2 separate regions of the Homo sapiens genome follow, and region 1 is linked to region 2. Evidence: promoter capture Hi-C in human tissues and cell types (Jung and others, 2019). All regions are on one chromosome and are shown on one strand. The core of a region is centred on a gene start or on the middle of the fragment in contact, and the rest is flanking DNA. Distances in the headings are between cores, read along the strand shown.

The links. The method cuts DNA at HindIII sites, captures the fragments that hold promoters and counts their contacts. A contact is called where the count stands out against the background at its distance.
Region 1: a contact is called between a fragment that was not itself captured here and the fragment with the promoter of N4BP3 in region 2, in 1 of the 25 tissues and cell types used here (aorta).

Annotation. Positions count from the first base shown.
Region 1 is chr5:179,608,831-179,614,279 of GRCh38, forward strand. The region is part of intron 4 of LOC128966623 (a long non-coding RNA gene); the gene reads left to right. RUFY1 (RUN and FYVE domain containing 1) reads left to right here. Exons shown (of 18, transcript NM_025158.5): 18 at 546-1,182. The coding sequence ends at 689. HNRNPH1 (heterogeneous nuclear ribonucleoprotein H1) reads right to left here. Exons shown (of 14, transcript NM_001257293.2): 14 at 5,348-5,449. Among named protein-coding and RNA genes, the nearest start is that of RUFY1-AS1, 7.8 kb to the left of the region's middle. RefSeq lists an enhancer at 4,998-5,057. The HindIII fragment of the contact is 3,640 bases long and covers 2,083-5,449 here.
Region 2 is chr5:178,110,027-178,116,029 of GRCh38, forward strand. N4BP3 (NEDD4 binding protein 3) reads left to right here and starts at 3,506. Exons shown (of 5, transcript NM_015111.2): 1 at 3,506-3,745. RefSeq lists silencers at 3,246-3,795, 3,876-4,195, 4,546-4,595, 5,206-5,315 and enhancers at 4,634-5,147, 4,676-4,735. The HindIII fragment of the contact is 21,734 bases long and covers 1-6,003 here.

The DNA of each region.
Region 1 (5,449 bases), core at 2,653-5,152, 1.5 Mb after region 2:
TGAGGCAGGAGAATCGCTTGAACCCAGGTGGCAGAGGTTGCAGTGAGCCGAGATTGCGCCACTGCACCCCAGCCTGGGCGACAGAGACTCAAAAAAAAAAAAAAAAGCCGGGCGCGGTGTTTCACGCCTGTAATCCCAACACTTTGGGAGGCCAAGGCGGAGGCAGATCACGAGGTCAGGAGATCGAGACCATCCTGGCTAACATGGTGAAACCCCGTCTCTACTAAAAATACAAAAAATTAGCCAGGTATAGTGGCGGGCACCTGTAGACCCAGCTACTGCCGGAGAATGGCGTGAACCTGGGAGGCAGAGCTTGCAGTGAGCTGAGATCGCGCCACTGCACTGCAGCCCGGGCGACTGAGCAAGACTCTATCTCAAAAAAAAAAAAAAAAAAAGACCCTTGTTTGCACACAGCCCCTCACCACCCCACAGAAACATAAGAACCCATTCCCAGCAAATGATGCGCTTCTGGGTCAGGAAGCAGGGAGGGTGTGCGGATGGCTTTTCCCCGGGTGTCCTGTGACCGCCTTCTTCCCGTCCTGTAGCACCACTGCCGGAACTGTGGCCACATCTTCTGCAACACCTGCTCCAGCAACGAGCTGGCCCTGCCCTCCTACCCCAAGCCGGTGCGAGTGTGCGACAGCTGCCACACCCTGCTCCTGCAGCGCTGCTCCTCCACGGCCTCCTGAACGTCCGTCCTCAGGAGCACAGCCTCACGGACAGTGCCAAACCCTGTGGGTCTCCAGGGGCTTGGGAAATGTGTTCTTTCCCAAGAGTATCAAAGGAAAGAATCAAATTTCTTGCCCGGTCACTGGCACTCCAGAAGACAGCGTGCCGGAACCGGCAGCTCTCACCTTTCTGTGACTTGTTCGGAATTAACTCCTCTGGATGGAAACTTCCATCTTACTTGGTTACATCACGGCTCTGGTTCAGATACAACTTCATGATTTTGCTACTATCATTTTTCACTTTTCAAAGAATTTAACCTATTTTACAGCAGTTCAGTTCTGCTAGTGAGTAGTTTTCCTCTCCTACCTTCCTTCTAAAAACCTGATTCATGCACAGCGTTTGACACACATGGAGTCTGCCAGTGTGCCTTCTCTGCTTCAGACAAGAGATCTGCCATTTCATGCCCTTGTGACTACCTATCATTGGCCCTGCAATAAAATCATTTATTTTTCACTCTGGTGCGTGCAGAAGCTTGTGTCAACTTCCAAAGAGCCCACCGCACCGGAGGAGGCCTCAGAGCGCCCCTCGTGCCCGAGCCCCGTGTGAGTGAGAGGCTGCTGGTGCTGCCCCAGAGCCTGCAGGGCAGCCTGGTGAGCCAAGGGCAGTTTGCAGGGTCAGCCTGCCGTCAACAGGCAGAGGAGGTGACCCCAAGCCTGTCACCAAAGTGCAAGAGTCGTTCACGTACATAGTTGGGAGTTTGATAGGTTACAGATGGAGACACCTGTGAAAAGGCACGTGCCAGGCAGCCATTTTTCACATTTCAAATGCAGCGCTACGACTGGCTTCCAGTCCCTCCCTCGGAGGCCCCCACCCCCAAAGATCCAATGGCCCGGGGCTCCCTTCCGGTAGAGACAACAGCATTATCAAGTCCAGACAGCCAACAGTCAAGTCTTCCAGGCCTCATCCTTCTCCACCTTCTATACACATACCTTGTCCGCGACCCTACCCTCCCTTCCCACGGGCTTCCTACCCTCGCCAAATCCAGGCCTCAGGATTCCACTCCTCCTTTGGGCTCTTCCTCCGAAGCAGGCTCCCCCACGACCTGGTCAGCCCTGGTAGATGCTTGCATGGCACCCTCAACTGAATTCCTCCTCTGCCGCTCCCTCCCCTCAAACCGCTCTGAAGATGGAAAAGGTGGGAGCTTGGGCAAGACTCAAGGATTCCCCCTCCATCCTATACCGCTTAGGACTGTGCGGCCAGACTTCAAGACGAGGTCCGCCCTGCTCCAAAGCCATGTCCTAGCAGGGTTCCAACCCTATTAGGCAAGCACATTGGCAGCCCTCCCCTTTCCTCACCCCTCACCGTAACAGCTGCCGTCTCATACAGGGCCAAACTTTCAGAAAAAACTGCCTATCACTCACTACCCCTAACTGGCATATATGACATCTGTGCCTTTTCAATACACCCAGTTTGGACCCCTAACTTGCTGGGCAGCCTTAGGCAAGTCAGTTCACTTGAGTCTTAGCTCTCATCTGCACACACAAAAGCAGAATAATCTATCCCTCCCCTACTTCAAGTCTGTTCTGACAGCTCAGTATAAAAACATGCAGGAGGTTCCCACCTCTGTGCCTGACACTTGGGTATAAACACAAGTGTTTAAGTGAAATTTTCAAAGTTGGCAATATTTGGTCAAGATAACTTCCCTACTCAGAAACTGAAATATATTCCAAGCCCTAACTCTGGAATCTCCAGTCCCTGGTCTGCTACCATACCACCTTTACCCAGGCCTGAGAAATGAAAGATAGATATTTTAAGGCAGCACTTCCCAAGTCAACTGAGGTAGGGGTGAGTGGTCAGGATTTTGTTTAAAATGCAGATTCCAACTGACAAGGTCAGGAGGTTAAGTTACTGCAAACAAGCTATGGAGCATAAGATTCCAAAGAACCATAATGCTTCTAGACTTTTTTTTGAGACAGGAATTTCGCTCGTTACCCAGACTAGAGTGCAATGGCACGATCTTGGCTCACTGCAACCTCTGCCTCAGTAACTGGTATTATAAGCGTGCACCACCATGCCCAGCTAATTTTTGTATTTTTTAGCAGAGACAGGGTTTCACCATGTTGGCCAGGCTGGTCTCGAACTCCTGACCTCAGGTGATCCACCCACCTCAGCCTCCCAAAGTGTTGAAATCACAGGCGTTAGCCACCGCCCCTGCCCTAGACTAGCCGTATGGCTCTGGATTTAGTTTAACCTTACTCCAAGTTTCTAGTTCTACTCCCTTCTCTAACAGGGCAAGCTTTATCCTTAAATGTACCACAGTTAACTAAAGAACCCAGAGAAGGGACCTTCAATCTTTCTCAATACTGGGCCTCAGTACCAAACTATTAACGCAAGATCTCAAGGGCAGTAACCAAGCTTAGAACACAGCTCAACAACTCTCAACACTGCCTCCCCCGACAACTGCTGTTCTCTAGACCTGCCAAAGACAAAACCAACAATACACATTCCAGACCCTTCCCTCTGCTAGTGTCCAGTCCTGGTAGGGGCAAGCAAGGTAGATCTGCAAAGCCCTCCCCTCCATGTCTCCTGCATGCACTGCTCCTGTGGGCAGATGGTTAGAAATGACCGATACTAAGCCACTCTGTCCACCCTACCTAGCTCTACCCCAACAACAAACTCAAGAAAAGCTCGTGTAATCGCAGAAAAGAGAAAGCTTATCCACACTTCGCTTTAAAGGGCGGCCGGGCGCGGTGGCTCACGCCTGTAATCCCAGCACTTTGGGAGGCCGAGGCGGGCGGATCACGAGGTCAGGAGATCGAGACCATCCCGGCTAAAACGGTGAAACCCCGTCTCTACTAAAAATACAAAAAAAAATTAGCCGGGCGTAGTGGCGGGCGCCTGTAGTCCCAGCTACTTGGGAGGCTGAGGAAGGAGAATGGCGTGAACCCGGTAGGCGGAGCTTGCAGTGAGCCGAGATCCCGCCACTGCACTCCAGCCTGGGCGATAGAGCGAGACTCCGTCTCAAAAAAAAAAAAAAAAAAAAGGCACAAGCCTATGTGACAGCCTAGTTCAGACACTACATTCTAATTTCATTATCAGGGACTTGAATCTAATGGGATGAAAGTAGTAGCGGCAGTTCCCACACTGCAGCACCCCTGAGCATCTGCTGAAGGAACCCCGGGAGCGTGCTTTTCAGGACTGCTTTTGTGATACCCAACCTTGTATTAACACGAATAGACTCTCCCTTACATGCCTAACCTTGTTTTTAATATGAAGACTCCCTTCGCTGAGAAAACCAGGCCAACTCCATTTGGCTCCTTCATTTACAAGACATCAAGGGCTCCTTACCCACCCCCCTTTCCTCAAGGACTTTAACTTGTGCAAGCTCTCAACGTATCAAAGAGTGCAGTTAACTGATAAGGTGCTGAGGCAAGCGATGTCCAGTTCCCAGCAATTTACTCAGAGATGGTACCATCAAGCCCCCATGTTTGTCCGGTAGATAACACCCAGAGCCCCCTCACCTGTCACTTTGTGATGAATTTGAAGCTCCTGCACCTGGAACTGTTTTCCTGTAACCATTTGTCTTTAACTTTTTTGTCTGTTTTTCTTCCCTAAGATGGCTGCAGCTAGAATCCCCCTCCCCTCTCCAAACCAAAGTATAAAAGAAAATCTAGCTCCTTCTTCGAGGCCGAGATACTTTCATGCGGTAGCCGTCTCTCGGTCGCCGGCTAATAAAGGACTCCTGAACTCGTCTCCAAGTGTGGCGTTTCTAACTCGCTCAGGTACACCACTTGGAAGCAGCTTGAATACTTGCTATCATCATGTTGGAGCTTCGAACTACCAAAACGTGATATATTTAAGAGTTCATTTAAACTTCTCATGTTAGCTCTCAATCTCTACCTATCGTTCTACCTTAGGAGACTTACATGGAATTTTGCTTCCAAGTGGAATTGATTTTTAGGAATGACCCAAAAATACAGAAGTTCAAAACTTCCATTTGAAAACCATCTGTGAAGGCTGGGCAATGGCTCCAGCCTATAATCCCAGCACTTTCAGAGGCCGAGGTGGGCAGATCTCATGAGGTCAGGAGTTGGAGACCAGCCTGGCCAACATCGTGAAACCCCGTGTCTACTAAACATACAAAAAAAATTAGCCTGGAGTGGTGGTGGGCGCCTGTAACCCCAACTACTTGGGAGGCTGAGGCAGAAGCCCACAAGGTGGAGGTTGCAGGTGAGCTGAGATCACGCCACTGCAATCCAGCCTGAGACAACAGAATATAACTCTGCCTCAAAAAAAAAAACAAACCTATGAGCTTATGAGCTAGAAGAAACCCACATATTCATCACACCTCCCTTGCCTCCGGCACCTTCCCAGCCAAGCATGAAGGCCTCAAAGACATGCAGGCATGCAGTGAGGGCACTGGCGCCTCCCCCTTTGTTTTGTGCAAGTGCTTAATGAGTTACAGGCAGTTCAGATCAGGTCCTGTGCAGCCAAATGACATACAGCCCTTCCACCAGGGCCCCAAAGACGAGTTTACCTTCAGTTGCACTGGAGGGAAGACTGAAGACATCTACGCAACAGCCTCAACTGCCAAGCCAGAGATGTGGCCCTAGGCCCCAGGTGGGCACAGAGCACCAAGACTCAGTCCACATGACACTGAAGCACAGACAAGACAGAGTGCAGTTTTTAAAAGGAGGATTTATTTGACAAGTTTCACTTAGCGCAATATACCTAAAAGGAAATCACAATACAATGAAAGATTTAAATCAAGGCCTCAGAA
Region 2 (6,003 bases), core at 2,256-4,755:
TTTCACCGTGTTAGCCAGGATGGTCTCGATCTCCTGACCTCGTGATCCTCCTGCCTCGGCCTCCCAAAGTGCTGGGATCACAGGTGTGAGCCACCGTGCCCGGCCTTTTTTTTTTTAAAGACAGGGTCTTGCTCTGTCACCTAGGCTGGAGTGCAGTGTTCGATCATAGCTCACTGCAGCCTCTGATTCCTAGGCTCAAGGGATCCTTTTGCCTCAGCCTCTCGAGTAGCTGGGACTATAGGCACCACTGGCTTGGCTAATTTTTTATTTTTTTATAGAGATGGGGTCTTGCTATGTCGCCCAGGGAACTCCTGGGCTTAAGCAATGCTCTCACCTCGGCCTCCTAATGCGTTGGCATTACAGGCGTGAGCCACTGCACCCAACCCAGAATCTGAGTTTTCATCAGAACTTAGCTGTGACCTCTCTCTCTCTTCCTCATGCCATTTCTTGCAAGTGGATTCTTATAAGAACCTTCATTCAAACCCTCTCATAAACATCTCTATCACTGTCTCTCCCACTCAGTTGACAGAATGAACACCTTCTCGGCAGCTTCCAGCTTCCAGGTCCTCCTTGGCCCCATTTCTTTCCCTAGAGACCCAGGGGACCCGACCTCCCTGCCTGCCTGTGCCACCTCACAGGCCCCACGTCCAGCTGCGTGCACAAGCTCCTCTCTCTCAATGCTTCGGAGGCTCCCAGCGCCCACTTCAAGAGGCTTCTCTGGGTCTGCTCTCGGTTGCCACCTTCGTCCCTTCCCACCACTAACCTTTCCCACCCAGGGCTTGGACCTTGCTAGCAAGCTGAACGTGCCCTGCCTTCTCTAGCCCTGCTATCTGCTCTGCTGGGAACACTCCTCAGTGGAAATGCTTCCAGGACCATCTCAAAAACCATTGCTCCAGTGAGGCCTTTCCTTGGGTCCCCCAAACAGCCAAACAGGTTCTTGCTCTGAAACTTTATCTGTCCCAGTGAGTAACCCTACCAGACTGGCTCCTCAAGGGCTGAGACCCACAGCAGCTATTAATGAGTTTTCTTAGACAAGTATTCTGAAGTCTGGCAGTTCTATTAGAAATTCTGGCCGGGCGTGGTGGCTCACGCCTGTAATCCCAGCACTTTGGGAGGCCGAGGCAGGTGGATCACCTGAGGTCGGGAGTTCAAGACCAGCCTGACCAACCCCGTCTCTACTAAAAATACAAAATTAGCCGGGCATGGTGGCACACACCTGTGCCAACCAGCTACTCGGGAGGCTGAGACAGAAGACTCGCTTGAACCTGGGAGGGGGAGGTTGCAGTGAGCTGAGATCACGCCATTGCACTTCAGCCTAGGCAACAAGGGTGAAACTCCATCTCAAAAAAAAAAAAAAGTTGCCGGGCGCAGTGGCTTATGCCTGTAATCCTAGCACTTTGGGAGGCCAAGGGGGGGTGGATCACGAGGTCAGGGGATCGAGATCATCCTGGCTAACATGGTGAAACCCCATCTCCACTAAAAATACAAAAAATTAGCCGAGTGTGGTGGTGGGCACCCGTAGTCCCAGCTATTTGGGATGCTGAGGCAGGAGAATGGCGTGAACCCGGGAAGCGGAGCTTGCAGCGAGCTGAGATCGCACCACTGCACTCCAGCCTGGGCGACAGAGCAAGACTCCATCTCAAAAAAAAAGTTCTTTCAGCCAGGCATGGTGGCTCACGCCTGTACTCCCAGCACACTGAGAGGCTGAGGCAGGCAAATCATTTGCCTTAATTGATTTGCCCACCTCGTCTTCCCAAAGTGCTGGGATTACAGGCGTGAGCCGCCATGCCTGGCCAGAAGTTCTTCCTAGAGGTTCTATGCTGTCCTAGCAAGAATTGGTAAGAACAGCATAGAACACAAGGGGTTGCAAATTTGTGGGCCGTAGACCAAATCTGTTCCACAAGTGACAAGATGTTTTTTAATTGAGGTAAAATGTGCATACCATAAAATTAGCCGTTTTAAAGCAAACAATTCAATGACATTTGTATATTCATAACGTTGTGCAACCACCACCTCTGTCAGGCTCCAAAACATTTTCCTCATCCCAGAAGGAAACCCTATGCTTGTTAGGCAATCACTCTGCCTTTCTCTCTCCCCACAGCCTCTGGCTCTAATCTGCTTTCTGTTTGTCTGGATTTACTTATTATAAATGGCATCATTAACACATGTGGGCTTTGTGTCTGGTTTCTTTCACTTGCCATGTTTTGGAGGTTTATCCATGTTGTAGCAGGTATCATCAGTGTTTCATTCCTCTTTTTCTTTTCTTTTCTTTCTTTTTTTTTTTGAGACAGGCTTACGCCATCATCCAGGCTGGAGTGTAGTGGCACAATCTCCGTTCATTGCAACTCTGCCTCCTGGGTTCAAGCAATTCTCCTACCTTAGCCTCCCGAGTAGCTGGGATTACAGGCTCGCTCCACCATGCCTGGCTAATGTTTGGTGTTTTTGGTAGAGATAGAATTTCGCCATGTTGGCCAGGCTGGTCTCAAACTCCTGACCTCAAGTGAGCCGCCTGCCTCGGCCTCCCAAAATGCTAGGATTACAGGGGTGAGCCACCACATCAGGTCTTTTTTTTTTTAAGATAGAGATGGAGTTTTGTGAGTTGCCCAGGCTGTTCCTGAACTCCTGGCCTCCAAAAGTGCTGGGAGAGTTCAGACATGAGTCATCACATGGCGTTCATTTCTTTTTTATGGCTGAATAATATTCCACTGAATGGATCTACCATTGTTTGCTTACACCCTCATCAATTGTTAGTTTGGGCTGTTTCCACCTTTTGGCTCTTTGACTATTGTGACTAGTACTGCCAAGAACATTACTTGTTTGAGGACTATAATTGCCGGATCATATGGTAACTCTATGCTTAACTTTTGAATTAGAAACGGTGTTTTAATTTTTCGAATATGACTCCTTTACGTGTCTGTGTCTGTTTCCATGTCTTCCTACTGTCTTAGTAGGAAGCTCACGACTCATTTGCGTAATTTTTCTGGCCCCTGAAGGCACCTGATTTTGCTGCCCCTAGAATACTTTGGAGGCAAAAAGAAAATAACTCTGTGCCCAATTCAGCCAGAGTCGTGGGGTAAAATCTTTTCACTTCTCAAAGTACTACTGTGGTTCATCCCCAAAGGGGGGAAATCAGGTTTTCCGGAGAGGAGGCGGCTACAATTAGGGAGGTGAGGGACCTCACGCGCCTCTTCCTTAGAGGAGGCGGGCGAGGCGAACGGCGGAGGAGGAGAAGCGGGGGCGCTGTGCGCTCTCTGGGGCGTGGGCCGCGCTCGGGGCTGCCCACCCCTCGGGAACGAGCCGGGGCGCTCAAGGAGGCAGCGACGCGAGGCGCAGCCGGTCCAGGTTTCGCCCGCCACCGCCGTGCGGCGCCTCTGCGGGTCAGGGCCGGGGGCGCGGTCGGGGCCGGGCGGGGCCCAGGTTGGCTCGCGGGTAGGCGGCCCCGCCCCCCACATCCGGGGGCCGGGGCCGGGCTGTGGGCTTGCCGCGCGCCGGTGAGTCAGGCCGGGTTTTCCCTCCGCCTTTGGGGCAGGCGATCGAGCGCCGCGGAGCGCGTCCCTCCCTCGCCAATCCGGCTCCGGCGCCGGCGCCCGCCCGCGTTTTCCCGGCGCCTGCCGCTCCGCCGCTCCGACCCGGCACGCAGTCCCGGCCCGAGCCGACGCCTTGCAGGAGGGTTCAAATCCGCGCGGGGGAGCTGCGACGCGCAAGGGCTGCGGAGCCGCGGGCCGGCGAGCGCGTCGCCACCATGGTAAGTGGGGCGCGCGAGGGGCTGGGGACCCGGGCTGGACTCGGGGGGTGGGGAGGGGTGGGGCGGGTCGCCAAGGTCTTGTTTTCGGGCGTCCTTGGCAAAGCTGCTGTCCCGCTGGCCGAGGCTCCCGTCTGAGAGATGGGCGGGGGTGGCAAGGTGCGGCGTGCGCCCAGGTGTCCCCTGCTCCCGGTCACCGAGGCACCGGATCGGGGACCGACCCCGATGCTCCGCTGGAGGGGCAGGCGGCAGGCTACCTTGCTCTCCCCAACCCCTGCAAACGCGCTTTCCAGGGAGCAGCGCGCGGGACCCCTGCGCCACGGCTGGGTGGGGCAGGCGTCCTTGGCGCCGGCGTCTGACCTCGGCCTCCGCCCCCCGGCCCAGCCGCTCCCGGCAGGCCTCAGGGAGGGGCCAGGAGGAGACGCGCCTCCCACCCCGCCCCCCAGGTAGCTCCGGGACCTCCCGCAGCTTTGGGGAACCCTCGCCTTCACCCCTGCTTTCCTGACACAAATTCCGTGGGGATGCAACCTCGTTTGCCCCTCTGACTTCCCCATGAGATCTCTCGCTTCCTCCCACACCTCCTTTATCCCCCAACCCCCTGCCGGTCCACCAGGCTGCAGCTGCGGGTCTGCGGGTAGGGGACATTCCTAGGTCTTGACCGCCAGAGCACCCGGTCCAGTCCCGGCCACAGCCTTTGGCCCAAGTGAGGGCTGGCCTGGGGACAAGCCGAAATCAGGGCCCTGGCTGTATCCAGAAAGAGAACTGAGACCCGTTGCCTCCCACTGGGCCACCCCCCGACCCCAACCACATAGGAACAGATTGGGCCTGGCTGTCCTCGGGAGGGAGCGGACGCAGGAGGCCATCCTGGGCGCGGTTATCAGCCTCCTCCCAGGGCCCTCCCAGGCAGGGCTTCTCTACCGGCTGGCAGCGTGTGGTGTGCATGTGCCAGACTGTGAATGAATGCGGCCAGCCTGCCTCTGCCACCGCCTCTAGAGCTAGCATAGCGACTCGGAGTCCCCATGAGGCAGGTTTCCTCTATTTCTTCCTGACCTGGGGGGCAGCAGGAGGGATTCCAGGCCTGGTGGACCGCAGTCTAGGGCAGCCTGGTTGCAAGTGTCCTTGGGAGAAACAGGCATGGAGGGCTGGGCAGACATATATGCAATACATACACAGCAGTGTGTGCCCATGGAGGGGAACCCGTGACCCCTGGCTTAGGACAACCTGCTGAGGTAGAAAGGACCTTGCCCAGGGAGTTGAGATTGCTTCTCACTGTGGGATCTTGGATAACTCACCTCGCCTTCCGAGGCCTCAGTTTCCCGATCTGTAAAATGGCGTGAGGGTAATTACTGTCCTGTTTGCCCCCACGAGGCTATTGTGGAGATGAAATGAGATAATGAAATAGAAGGGCTGAGAAAAAACTGTAGACTGCGGTGCAGCCGTGAAGCACTATATGGTGATACTAAGCACCACTTCCGCAGGCTTTAGCCCCTGTCTCTGCCTCAAGTGTCTGTCACAGAGGGGATGGGGTGGGCCAGCCTCTCCCAGCCCCTCTCTGGGCCCCCCTTGCCTACTACCCCCCCCTTTTGGAGCTGGGACATTCCAGTCCCATTCCTTAGGGGCAGCTGCAGACACGCCCCTTAGCAGAGCTGATCCCCCAGCAGGTGGTGGGACCTTTCCCTGGGGCCAGGGCTCAGGAGGGGCTGACTGTAGCCAGGGCAGGCAGCACTCCTGCCCATGTGGGGACTGGAATGTCCCACCCCAGAGGAGATGCAAGGTGGGATCCGAGAGGACTTCTAATCCTGGAGCCTGTGTGCTTTCTCCCCTGCGGCTGAACGTGACCTTAGGCGTGTTACTTCACTTTCTGAACCTCAGTTTCCTCTTGTGAAGTGGGGGATGACAGAACTCATCTCCTGTGTGTCTTGTGAGGATGTGATAGTGCCCTTTGGCGTGACCCAAAAGGGCACCAACAGGCTCTGGGACGCCCCCCTCAAAGAAAGCGCGTCCTCTCCTTCTTTGCTTCCTGGCCAGGGCAGCTGTGTCTTCCATCTCCACCAAGGATTGGTCCGAAAGCAATTCCTCTCCGTGTTCAGAGATTCCAGTGCTGCCTGCTAATCTTGGGGACTGGAGAGGGGTGAGGGGACTGGTGGCGGGGAGCAGGAGTGAAGAGGCCTTACTGGGGCTAGCCAGGACCTGTGGAGAATGTGGCTTGAATGTCCCAGCCCAAATCTAGCCAGCTGTGTGGCTGGGGGTTTGCCGCTCCC